Linked DNA regions of Homo sapiens: regions 1 and 2 are each linked to region 3. The links are contacts of gene promoters, found by promoter capture Hi-C in blood cells and fetal thymus (Javierre and others, 2016). All regions are on one chromosome and are shown on one strand. Each heading gives the region's core, a stretch centred on a gene start or on the middle of the fragment in contact. The rest is flanking DNA. Distances are from core to core; before and after follow the strand shown.

What was found. The method cuts DNA at HindIII sites, captures the fragments that hold promoters and counts their contacts. A CHiCAGO score of 5 or more calls a contact.
Region 1: a contact is called between a fragment that was not itself captured here and the fragment with the promoter of KEL in region 3, in 1 of 17 cell types (neutrophils). The highest score is 8.2, in neutrophils.
Region 2: a contact is called between the fragment with the promoter of PIP here and the fragment with the promoter of KEL in region 3, in 4 of 17 cell types (M2 macrophages, M0 macrophages, naive B cells and 1 more). The highest score is 6.7, in M2 macrophages.

Annotation. Positions count from the first base shown.
Region 1 is chr7:143,200,656-143,203,970 of GRCh38, forward strand. It overlaps LOC124901764 (a long non-coding RNA gene), which reads right to left. Exons shown (of 2, transcript XR_007060567.1): 1 at 2,521-3,315; 2 at 1,401-1,772. Among named protein-coding and RNA genes, the nearest start is that of TAS2R39, 19 kb to the left of the region's middle. The HindIII fragment of the contact is 871 bases long and covers 1,484-2,354 here.
Region 2 is chr7:143,130,646-143,134,196 of GRCh38, forward strand. PIP (prolactin induced protein) reads left to right here and starts at 1,432. Exons shown (of 4, transcript NM_002652.3): 1 at 1,432-1,566. The coding sequence starts at 1,472. The HindIII fragment of the contact is 4,172 bases long and covers 1-3,387 here.
Region 3 is chr7:142,960,614-142,964,037 of GRCh38, forward strand. KEL (Kell metallo-endopeptidase (Kell blood group)) reads right to left here and starts at 1,750. Exons shown (of 19, transcript NM_000420.3): 1 at 1,591-1,750; 2 at 1,182-1,259; 3 at 747-888; 4 at 315-491. The coding sequence starts at 1,593. RefSeq lists a silencer at 1,514-1,709. The HindIII fragment of the contact is 12,002 bases long and covers 1-3,424 here.

The DNA.
Region 1 (3,315 bases), core at 669-3,168, 240 kb after region 3:
ATATCTGAAAGCCTGTTGTGTCTTTTTTACTTTGTTTTTAATTGGCATTTAACAATTATTCATATTTATGAGGTATAATGTGATATTTTAATACATGTATAAATTGTGTAATCATCAAATCAGGATATTTAATATATCTATCTCCTCATATAATTATCATTTCTTTACAGTGAGAACATTCAAAATTTTCCTATTTTGATGTTTGTTTTGTTTGTTTGTCTGTTTGTTGGTTTGTCTATTGCACAGGCTGTAGTGCAATGGTGAAATCTTGGCTCACTGCAACCTCTGCCTCCCGGGTTCAAGTAATTCTCTTGCCTCAGCCTCCCAGGTAGCTGGGATTACAGGCATGCATCACCACGCCTGGCTAACTTTTGTATTTTTTTAGTAGAGATGGGGTTTCACCACGTTGGTCAGACTGGTCTTGAACTGACCTCAGGTGATCCACCCTCCTTGGCCTCCCAAAGTGCTGGGATTACAGGCTTGAGCCACTGTGCCCCACCTTTCTAACTATTTTGAAATACACAACATTGTTAACTAACATAGTCACCCTACTGTGCAATAGAACACCAGAACTAATTCCTCCTATCTAACTGTAACTTTGTAGTCATTGACAAATCTCTCCCCATTTGCCCCCTAATCTCACTATCTTCCCCAGCCTCTGATAACCACTATCCTACTCTCTACTTCTATGAGATCAACTTTTTAAGATTCCACATATTGGTAAGATCATGCAGTATTTGTCTTTTTGTGCCTGGATTATTTCACTTAAAATAATGTTCTCTAGGTTTACCCATGTTGCCACAAATGATAGTACTACAATTTTTTTTTTTTTTGAGATAGAGTCTCACACTGTTGCCCAGGCTGGAGTGCAGTGGCACAATCTCGGCTCACTGTAACCTCTACCTCCTGGGTTCAAGCAATTCTCCTACCTCAGCCTCCCAAGTAGCTGGGATCACAGGCATGCACCACTACGCCGGGCTAATTTTTGTATTTTTAGTAGAGACAGGGTTTCACCATGTTGGCCAGGCTGGTCTCGAACTCCTGACCTCAGGCAATCTGCCCGCCTTGGCCGCCCAAAGTGCTGGGATTACAGGTGTGAGCCACTGTGCAGGCCGTATTCCAGTTATTTTTTATGTCTAAATAGTATTCCACTGTGTATATATAAAACACATTTTCTTTCTCTATTCACCCATTGGTGAACACATAGGTTGATCCCATATCTTGACTCTTGTAAACAGTGCTGCAATAAACATTGAGAGTTCAGATACCTCTCAGTGATTTCCTTTGGACATATACTCAGTAGTGGGGTTGCTGGATCATATGGCTAGTTCTATTTTTAACTGTTGAGGAATTTCCATACTGTTTTCCATAATGACTTACTAATTTACATTTTCACCTTCTCATTTCTTAATTGTTTATTTTTAATAGCATCCTTCTCTTATTTTATGGAGGCAATATCTTCTGTGCCTCCTCTAAGGACACAAGCTTAAATTTTTTGTCTTCTTTGATCTTTATTTCTTCAGGGGTAATTCACTCTTGGTGTTTAGCTTGGTCTTTCTCTTTCAGGCTGTGGATTTTGTTCCTATTTCTGATCATCCTTGATTAGTAATTCATGAAGGAAAAGGAAAGGCTGTTTTGGGTAAGCAGGTATCATTCTCCAGTAGAACGGTCTCCTGAATGGAAAGGCTGATTGGAAGCTCTCTTTTGTAACTGGGCCACCTTGACAGGCTGGCTCCTCTTTTAGGTATGTGGGTGTGGAATCTGACATTAGCCTGGAAATTCAAAATGCCATAATAAAAAAAGGGTTTAATCTATGTGCAAATATCTGCACTTGAAGCCCTAGTTCTTCCTTGGAAATGTATTCAATTTTTCTAGAAAAGAATTCTCAATATGAAGGTTTTCGATGGTTCTGTATGCAGTGGCAAGGAAGGCACTGGAAAGCATCAATGATGCAGCTATATGGCAGACAGAATTTTAATGATGCCTCTGGTTTTTGCACAATGTCTCGCTCCTGCTATCCAAAGCTAGGAATCCGATAGCCAAGGCCCTCCAGGCTTCTAGCAGCCTGATCAGCCACCACATTCCCAGAGGCCCATGACATGCATATTCTGAGCATCCTTTACTCCACTTCATCTACAATATGCTTTTTCTGATTGTCCACAACCAAGAAATAGGATGAAATCTCCAGTCTGCTCTTGGCCATCCTCATTCCCTTCTCTTTAGTGTTATGATATTTTTTTCTCTATGGAGTCTCAGAAGAAAGGGAAGTAGTGAACACATTATTTAAAAAATCAAATCAAAACCTTATACATACTTTTTTTTTATCATACAAGAACCTCTGGGTCTATTTCAGAAGCTTAATATTTGGTGCCCAAAATATTTTATCCTGGACAATCTTATATTGCACAAATCTTAATTCAGAGTCATAAAAGTCCCCCAAACTGGCTTTTTAAGCTGGTGCATAAACCCCATTGATGATAGTCTTATCCTATTTTTGTTTATGCTCATGTGCTTTCTCACCTGTTAAGAAACTTGCTAATTCTATTATGCGACTCTCTGGCAAAGCTTATCAAAGCTTCAAATTAATTAAGCAGTGGCAGCTCCCAATTTCCTTTTCTTACTGGCAAAAATTTGTTTCACAGAAAATGTTTAGAAAGCTTAAGTTGGTAACAGCTGATTGTTGACCTGGAAATAAGAGGTCTTCATCAATATGTTAAGCGGTCAGGATACTTAAAGAAAAACATCTATGGAGACTTCTTAGCATGCACTCTAGGCAAATACTTGCTGTCCTTCACCATTATTTCAGGATTTTTTTTTCCTAAAAGCATAAGAACAAACACATAAATGATAAAAGCAGAATTTAGGCCAACTCTAGCTTGCCTGCCAAGTAGGTAAGATGCGGTGGCAGAATACTGGCTACACTTGTGCCTGTATCACCATGGAGACCCTACTCTGACCATCAAATAATGGGATTCTAATGAGGAATGCTGCTGAACAACAAGCATGGCTGAGCACAAAGACAGAGCTGCTGGCATTGGAACATGGGAGTGAGCAAGAAAGGGGCAGCCCAAGGGAGAAGAAAAGGTGACACTGAACGTAGGTGTCGTGATGAGAAGAAAATAGGTTGCAGGTGGTGACTGCCTGGAGACCAGCCCAAATCACCTTCCACCTTTACGTGGAATCCAGGCTCAAAGCAGGAGGGACAAACTTGAGTGGGATAAATGTGACATGAAATGAGTCAGTTTGCCCAGAATATGTTTTTACCTATGAGGTGGATTGCATGGGATGGGGGAGGGGGGCTTGTAGGCAGGAGGG
Region 2 (3,551 bases), core at 182-2,681, 170 kb after region 3:
GTGCTTCAAATGGAAATTATGCAAGTGAGAAGGACCAGGTGTAAAGACAATTTAATTGTGGGAAAAGGCTTACAAAGGAAGGTCATTGTGACCCTCACAAGCAGTGTTCTTGAGTGGATAGGACATAAACAGGGAAGAAAGCATGTGATCATGAGAACAGCTGAAGTTCTGAGTGAGCAATGACATGAATGGTGTCCAATTCAAAGAAAAGAGAAGGTAGATCCAGGAGCTGAATAAACAGACAGAGCAATTTTGAGAGATACATCCAGAAAGCAGAAGCACACACTTACACTTTAGCTCTGAATCCTGGCTAAAGCAACATACAGAGGCGGTAACTCCTAGAACTCTGATTTTCACTCTGTTGCCAGAGAGGCTCTTCCTGGGCAGCTGTGTGCCATGCAAATGATAGAAACAAATCCCATAGTATTGTAAGTCATAGGTTAAGGAGCAGATTTAATTTCATAAGGAGAAATAACACAATGCCAGTGTCAGCAAGAGCAAGTCTCCCCATCATCCCAAGGAGAGGAATTCTACAACCTGGGTATCTACTGGACATAATGTGGGCTCCATTCTCACAGAAGGAATCCTTTCCACTGTGGTTCTTCCTGTGTGGCTTACGCATGAGACAAGTGTAAGAAAGTGGCCATGTCAATAAGAAAATAAGCCAGCTCTTTGGTGCCAAGAAGTCTGATTTGGGGGTGCCAGCTATTTATAGGAATTGTCTAGAATTAAAATATCACCCTGCCTTGGGGATTGTGGGGCAGCTGGGGATCTTGGACATCTGCAGTATATTGCAACCACACCTGAAATTAAGAAGGACTCAATGACAATAAACATCTTTACATCACCCAGTGTCTTGAACTCACTTCCCCATCATGTAGAGCAGCTCAGGTCTTCTCTAGCTCTTCCACCTCATGATGGGTAGTGACTGCTAGGGAAGTCCTGATCATCCTAGCCCTCCAAGAAATGTTTTGAATAGCATTGCATCTTGAACTCACTATAATTTGATCAAGCAAAGATGTTCTATGTCTCTGGTCTGAAACCTGCCACCACAGCTGTGTTCTCTGCTTTCAGAGACCAGGGGAGCAGTGACTGAAGCTAAGACTACACATAGCACTTCAGACAGGCAAATTAGGAGGGAAAAGAAAACTGAATCTGTAAACTCGGGAAAAACTGGTGTATCTTTTGAGGTCCCAGCCATTTTGAGAAACTCTGATGCTGAAAAAATAAGGAAGAACAATCTGACTCCTCTCTCAAACGCTGACATTCTAGCTGAGTGTTGATTTTTTCTTAGAAAAACAAACTTTGGGTCAACAAGGAAAGATCACGAGTGGGGAGGGTGAATGGGTGATTCACCTCATGGATCTCCCTGGCAGCTCTTGCACTTCCTTGATCAATCTGTATATAAGAAATGTGCTGGGCACCTGGGACACCACTTCTCTGGGACACATTGCCTTCTGTTTTCTCCAGCATGCGCTTGCTCCAGCTCCTGTTCAGGGCCAGCCCTGCCACCCTGCTCCTGGTTCTCTGCCTGCAGTTGGGGGCCAACAAAGCTCAGGACAACACGTGAGCCATGCCCTTCTCCTCCCCACAAAAAAAATTGCAGGGAGGGCTCCTCTCCCAGTCTGGAAATTACATATCTCTTTCTGAGAATTTCTTTCAACTTCCCAGAACTCTAGTCCCAGGAGCTCCCATGGATCTCCTGCCAGGTTCCACTTCTTGTCCTCTTAGGAAGCCCCACCAACTCCTCTCACATTTTTGCTGGGTGTTTCTGCATTGCCAGTGGAAATAAAGCTCCAAATGTACCTACAGGCTGTAATTAGTAGTTAGTCTTCATCTAACATGCTGATCCACATCTTGTTCATAATTTATACCTTTGTTCAGATTTCTGCTCAGTAAACTTTACCTTCTCACACCTTGCCTCCTAGAAGAGAAGCATAACAGGTCTGTGAATTCCAATGGCAGCTTAGGGCAGCTTTGGCAGGACTGGCTAAAGGACCAGAGGCCCTGGCCACTGCCCTGTGGTCTGAGATTGAGCTAGACTGGCAGCTTAGACATTCTTCCTAACCTGAAGTCTGAAGATGAATATGATGACCTCTTGCTCTCACGTATACTGGGACCTGAGAGCACAGGTTCAGAAGTCAACTTATTGAGAACACATGTGTGAAGGAAGCAGAAAAATTGGAGCAAGTAAAATAAAGTAGAAAATGGAGCCAAGGGTCTGGGAGAAAGCAGCGATACCCAATCTAGGGAGTTTTCTCTATAGCAGTAGGGTTTATAATGCTGGGTTTCTGGGTTGTGATCTTGGAGGTACTCTCTATGGCATGGTCAGATATCCTGTCCTGGAGGAAACTGTTCAGGGTTTTGACAAGCTAATGTAATGGAGGCAAGTGTCCCAAGAAACCCTGCATGGGGACAGGTTCAGATCCCACCCCATTCCCGCCAGATGACAGTCCACTTAGCCCTGAAGGGCAGCAAGGTATTCAAATAAGCTATGCTAATTAGGTTATCAACCATCCATCCTGATTTGCCCAGAACTTTCCTGGTTGTAGCACTGCAACTCTGCCCTCCCCCGCCACCTCCACAACCCATTCTGGAAAAGACCTCAGTCCTGGGTAAACTGAGATGGTTAGTCACTCGAACTAAGCTGGTCATCCTATCAATCTGAAACTCATATACAAATGGGAGAGATTTTGAAGTTGCTTAGGTATTTATACCCTTTTCCTGTGCACTGGGCACTACAGCAGTTGGCACCAAAAAATAGAATCTCTCTAAGATGCTTTGCCCCAAGAAAATGGGGCTGTGAGACACTGTGGGCTAAGAATCTCAATTCCCTTCTGTCCCACACAATAACAAAGGTCCGTAGCCGGGAGTTTCTAGGGACGAGAAAATAACTCTCCTGGCCCCGAACCCAGTCCTCATTGACTGAAGAAGAACATTTGACCATTTTATTTGTCTCCATTTCCTTTCCTTTTCAGATTGCAGTGTATGGTCTAAATGTAGAGTAGTATCTAAAGTTCCCAAACATGGCCATATGTCCAAATTTCCTAAGGAGCTAAATAAATACAAATTCCTAAACCCTACCTGGGGACCACAGAAGGAGGATCTTCAAAGATGCTCCTACAAATACCTCCAGTGCATTGAGATGTTTGCTGGGTTTTTAAAATTTTTTATTATTTTATTTTATTTTTCCATAAGTTACTGGGGTACAAGTGGTATTTGGTTACATGAGTAAGTTCTTTAGTGGTGATGAGATTTTGGTGCACCCATCACCCGAGCAGTATACACTGCACCATATTTGTAGTCTTTTAGCCCTCACCCCTCTCCCACTCTTCCCCGCAAGTCCCCAAAGTCCATTGTATCATTCTTATGCTTTTGAGTCCTCAAAGCTTAGCTCCCACATATCAGTGAGAACATACGATGTTTGGTTTTCCATTACTGAGTTACTTCACTTAGAATAATAGTCTCCAATCTCATACAGGTCACTGCAAATGCTGTTAATTCATTCCTTATTATGGCTGAGTAGTAGTATTCCATCATATATATATATA
Region 3 (3,424 bases), core at 500-2,999:
ATTATGGATACATGGAGAAGCAAAGAAGATGGAAATTAGATAAAGAAAAAAATGCAGAAAGGGACCAAGAGAAACGGAAGAAGGGTACCCAAGGCAAGGCAACAGGAAACAGTGAGAGATGAGCAAACCCAGGCAGCTCCCGCCATCCTGCCTCTTTTACTCCCCCATCATCTCCAATCATCCACCCGTATAATCCCACCTGGGATGGTGCAAATCAGTTGTTCCACAACTACACAGGGTTTGGAGCAGTCATGGTCATTTTAGGCACAGAGTCACCCACTTGCACAGAGCATCTTCCACCCTGCTTTCCTCACCCAGTATTCTCCGAAGTCGGTTTTTGTTCTTTGTGGCAAGCTCCTGAAAAGAATTATTGGTCTCTTTGGCCCTTCCACAGGCAAAGCTGAAGAAGTCGGTGCAGGGGGCCACACTTGTGTTCCCAGAGGCCAGGTAATGATCCCGGAGATCCAAACACACAGATGTCTCACAGGGGCCTGTGGGGAAAAGCTCAGAGCTGGGAAAGAAGAGGCAAAAAGACAAGGGCTCCCCCAAGGGGCTAGGCAAAGAACATCAGGTGAGTAACTAAGTGGGGAGCTGATGAAAAAGAAATGGTTAGGATGCAGGGAGGAAGAAGAACCATGGGGACCCCAAGGGTCAGGGTGGGCAGAAGCCCCAGGAGCAGGGACTGGGCCTGGGCCCCAGGGCTGGGGGAGGGCTGACTAGGTTAGGGGGTCTGGGATCTTGCTTACGAGGGCCACAGTTCTGGAAGTTGTAGAACAAAAGCACAGAAAAACAAAGGAGCAGGCCCAAAATCAGGATAGCTGTCAGCACCCGCCTGGCCACTGCCCATGGCCTGCTCCCTTCCACGGGCAGCCTCTCTTCTGGAGTGCTCTGTGGGAGGAACCAAGAGGTGAAAGATACAAGATGGGGGTTGAGAGACAGGGATGGGAAGAAGAGGAGAGAGAATGAATCTGTTGGTGCTACAGTCCCTTTATACAGAAATAATTATCCCAATTCTTCCTAAACCCAGCCCTACTTTAACTCCTGGGAGATGAGAAAACAAGGAATGTCAACTGTTTTGGGTGAGGATGAAGCAGACAGTTAGTAGATGAGTGTTTGTGGGATTTTAGAGCCGAGAGTGACAACATCAGTGTATTCCAGACCCAGGAGAGGAGGCCACTTACCTCTTGGCTCCAGAGAGTTCCCATTCCACCTGCCTGGCTGCGTTCCCTCGGCTCTTCCTCACTTTGGTCCCCACCTTCCTGAAGTGAGTGGAGGGAGAAGGAGGAGAGAGAAGCTGGTTCAGGAAATGGTGCATTGAAGAGAGTTTTATCAGGCCATTTTGATACCCTCGCTGCCTGCCCTGCCCCCACACACATATTTTTATCTCGGAGCAGTGTTCCCAGATGGGCTTCAGAACGAACCTGTCCCCTGAATGTGCCATTTCTCGATCCCTCTCCCATTACCTCCCTCTCTCCCCACCTTTCTACTCTGTAAGCCTTACATTCCCTCCCCTCCAGTGGGGGCAGGACTTTTGCACACAGCCACCCTCACCCCTCCCCGCTAAGCCTCTGACTCCAAAAGGGGACTTACCATCTGTCTATCTTCTGTGGCTCCAGAATCCTTCCTGGTTCCACTCTAGGAGCTGATTCGGAGGACTGGGGTCCAGGAAACACCCCCCGCCCCAGTTCCTTGATCCTGGAGAAGGGGCACTTCTGCTGCTCTTTCGCCTTGTCCCCAGACACACAGGACTGGCCTCTGGGTGGAGCCTGCTTATCAGTGGGGGGCACCCAGGCTTCTCCTCCCCCTTTATCTCAGCTTCTCAGGGGAGAAGAGGGAGGGAGTCTTCACTCCCCAAGCAATCTTGCCCTTGGTCTGCTCCTTTTGTCTTGCACTGTGACTCTGCCCATGAAGTTCCTTTATTTCTAAAATATTCTTCCTTCTCTCATTTCTTCTGTATTAAAAAAAATATGAGGCACAGTAAAATTTTAAAGAGTTTATTTAAGTAAGAAGCAATTCATGAATTGGGGAGCACCAGACCGACAAAGGTTTAGTGTTGCGATGACAAAATGTCAGAGGCAAGCATTTATTGGGAAGTTATAGAAGCAAAATGAAACATTATTTGCTTAGTTTGCAGTTACATAATTGCATTTTTTAGGTAACTTTTTGGAAAGTCCCTAGTCACATAATCATATGTTAGTTGGCTGCTTATCATTGGCTGGGGTTAAGTTTTATTTGTTGTAAGCATTTATCAGAAATTGACCCAAGTTAAGTTTAATTTATGTTTGTAGTTTTAGCAAGAATATGGCTATTTTTAAGGTCTTTGGCTTTGTTTGCCTGGGAATTTTTCAGGCCCAGTCTCCATTTTAATTTTGTTTTCACACCTCTCTGATTGGCTTTTCTGGGATTCATCAATTCCCAGGTCAAATGCCACCTTTCCCAGGAGGCCTCCCAGCTCCATGCCCATTCACACTGTTCCCAAGCATGCTTAATTGTTTCTCTCGGTGTTTCATAGCTCTGCTGGCTGCTGGCAAAGTCATGCATTCAAAAGATCACCCAGCTAGGAGACCCTAATCTGCTAATTATTAGCTCTGTGACAATAAACAAGCCACTTAAACTCTGAGGCAGGTAAGCAAGTTTTGTCATCTGGAAAATGAGGGTAATACTTGCCTATGCCTACCTCATAGGATCTCATGCCTTCTACAAAAGAATAAGGCTTTACTGAGCCCCTCTTTCTTTCATTCTGCTTTCTGTTACACTGATAGCTTGCCTCTTCATCTCCTTAGTGATTGAAAACTATGTCATAGCATGTACAGTGTCTGGTTTTCATTCCTGCCCACCCAAGATGCTTTCTAAATGTTAATAGAAATGAATTGCATTCCAAGCCAGAAATCCTCTTTCTCACATCATATTAAGCCCTTACCTGTGGTCTGAGAGAGGCAAGCACATTTCTGGGGGAAGGTGTTTCAACTCTGTCCTTGTTTCCTCATCCCAGGAAAAAAATAATGTAATTTATTAGGTTAGTCTTGCAAATGATCCCCTGGCGATATTTCCAGATTCCATCAGCACTGTGCTAGGGCCATGGTGCACTTGCCAGGATGAGGGTGGGTGTGGAGAAGTGGAGTAAAGCCATTGTGCCCCCTGGGGCCAGCTGGTCGGGTATCATGAAAGTCATAAAGAAAAGTCAGAACTTCATACATTAGAAAAGAAAGCATTGGGAAAAATAAGGCTTTTGAGGAAAGGTGTGGCAAGATACAATAATATCTAAGAAACGCCGGTGTGGTATTGGGGATCTGGACTGATTGGATAAAAGACAAGAAACAGAGTGGTTAGTTTGGTGTTGCAGGAGTGATGAAGGGAGGGCCCGGCCCAAGGGGATGGCAGAGGGGAGGGAAGTGCGTAGAAAGAAAAATTGTATGGAATAAAG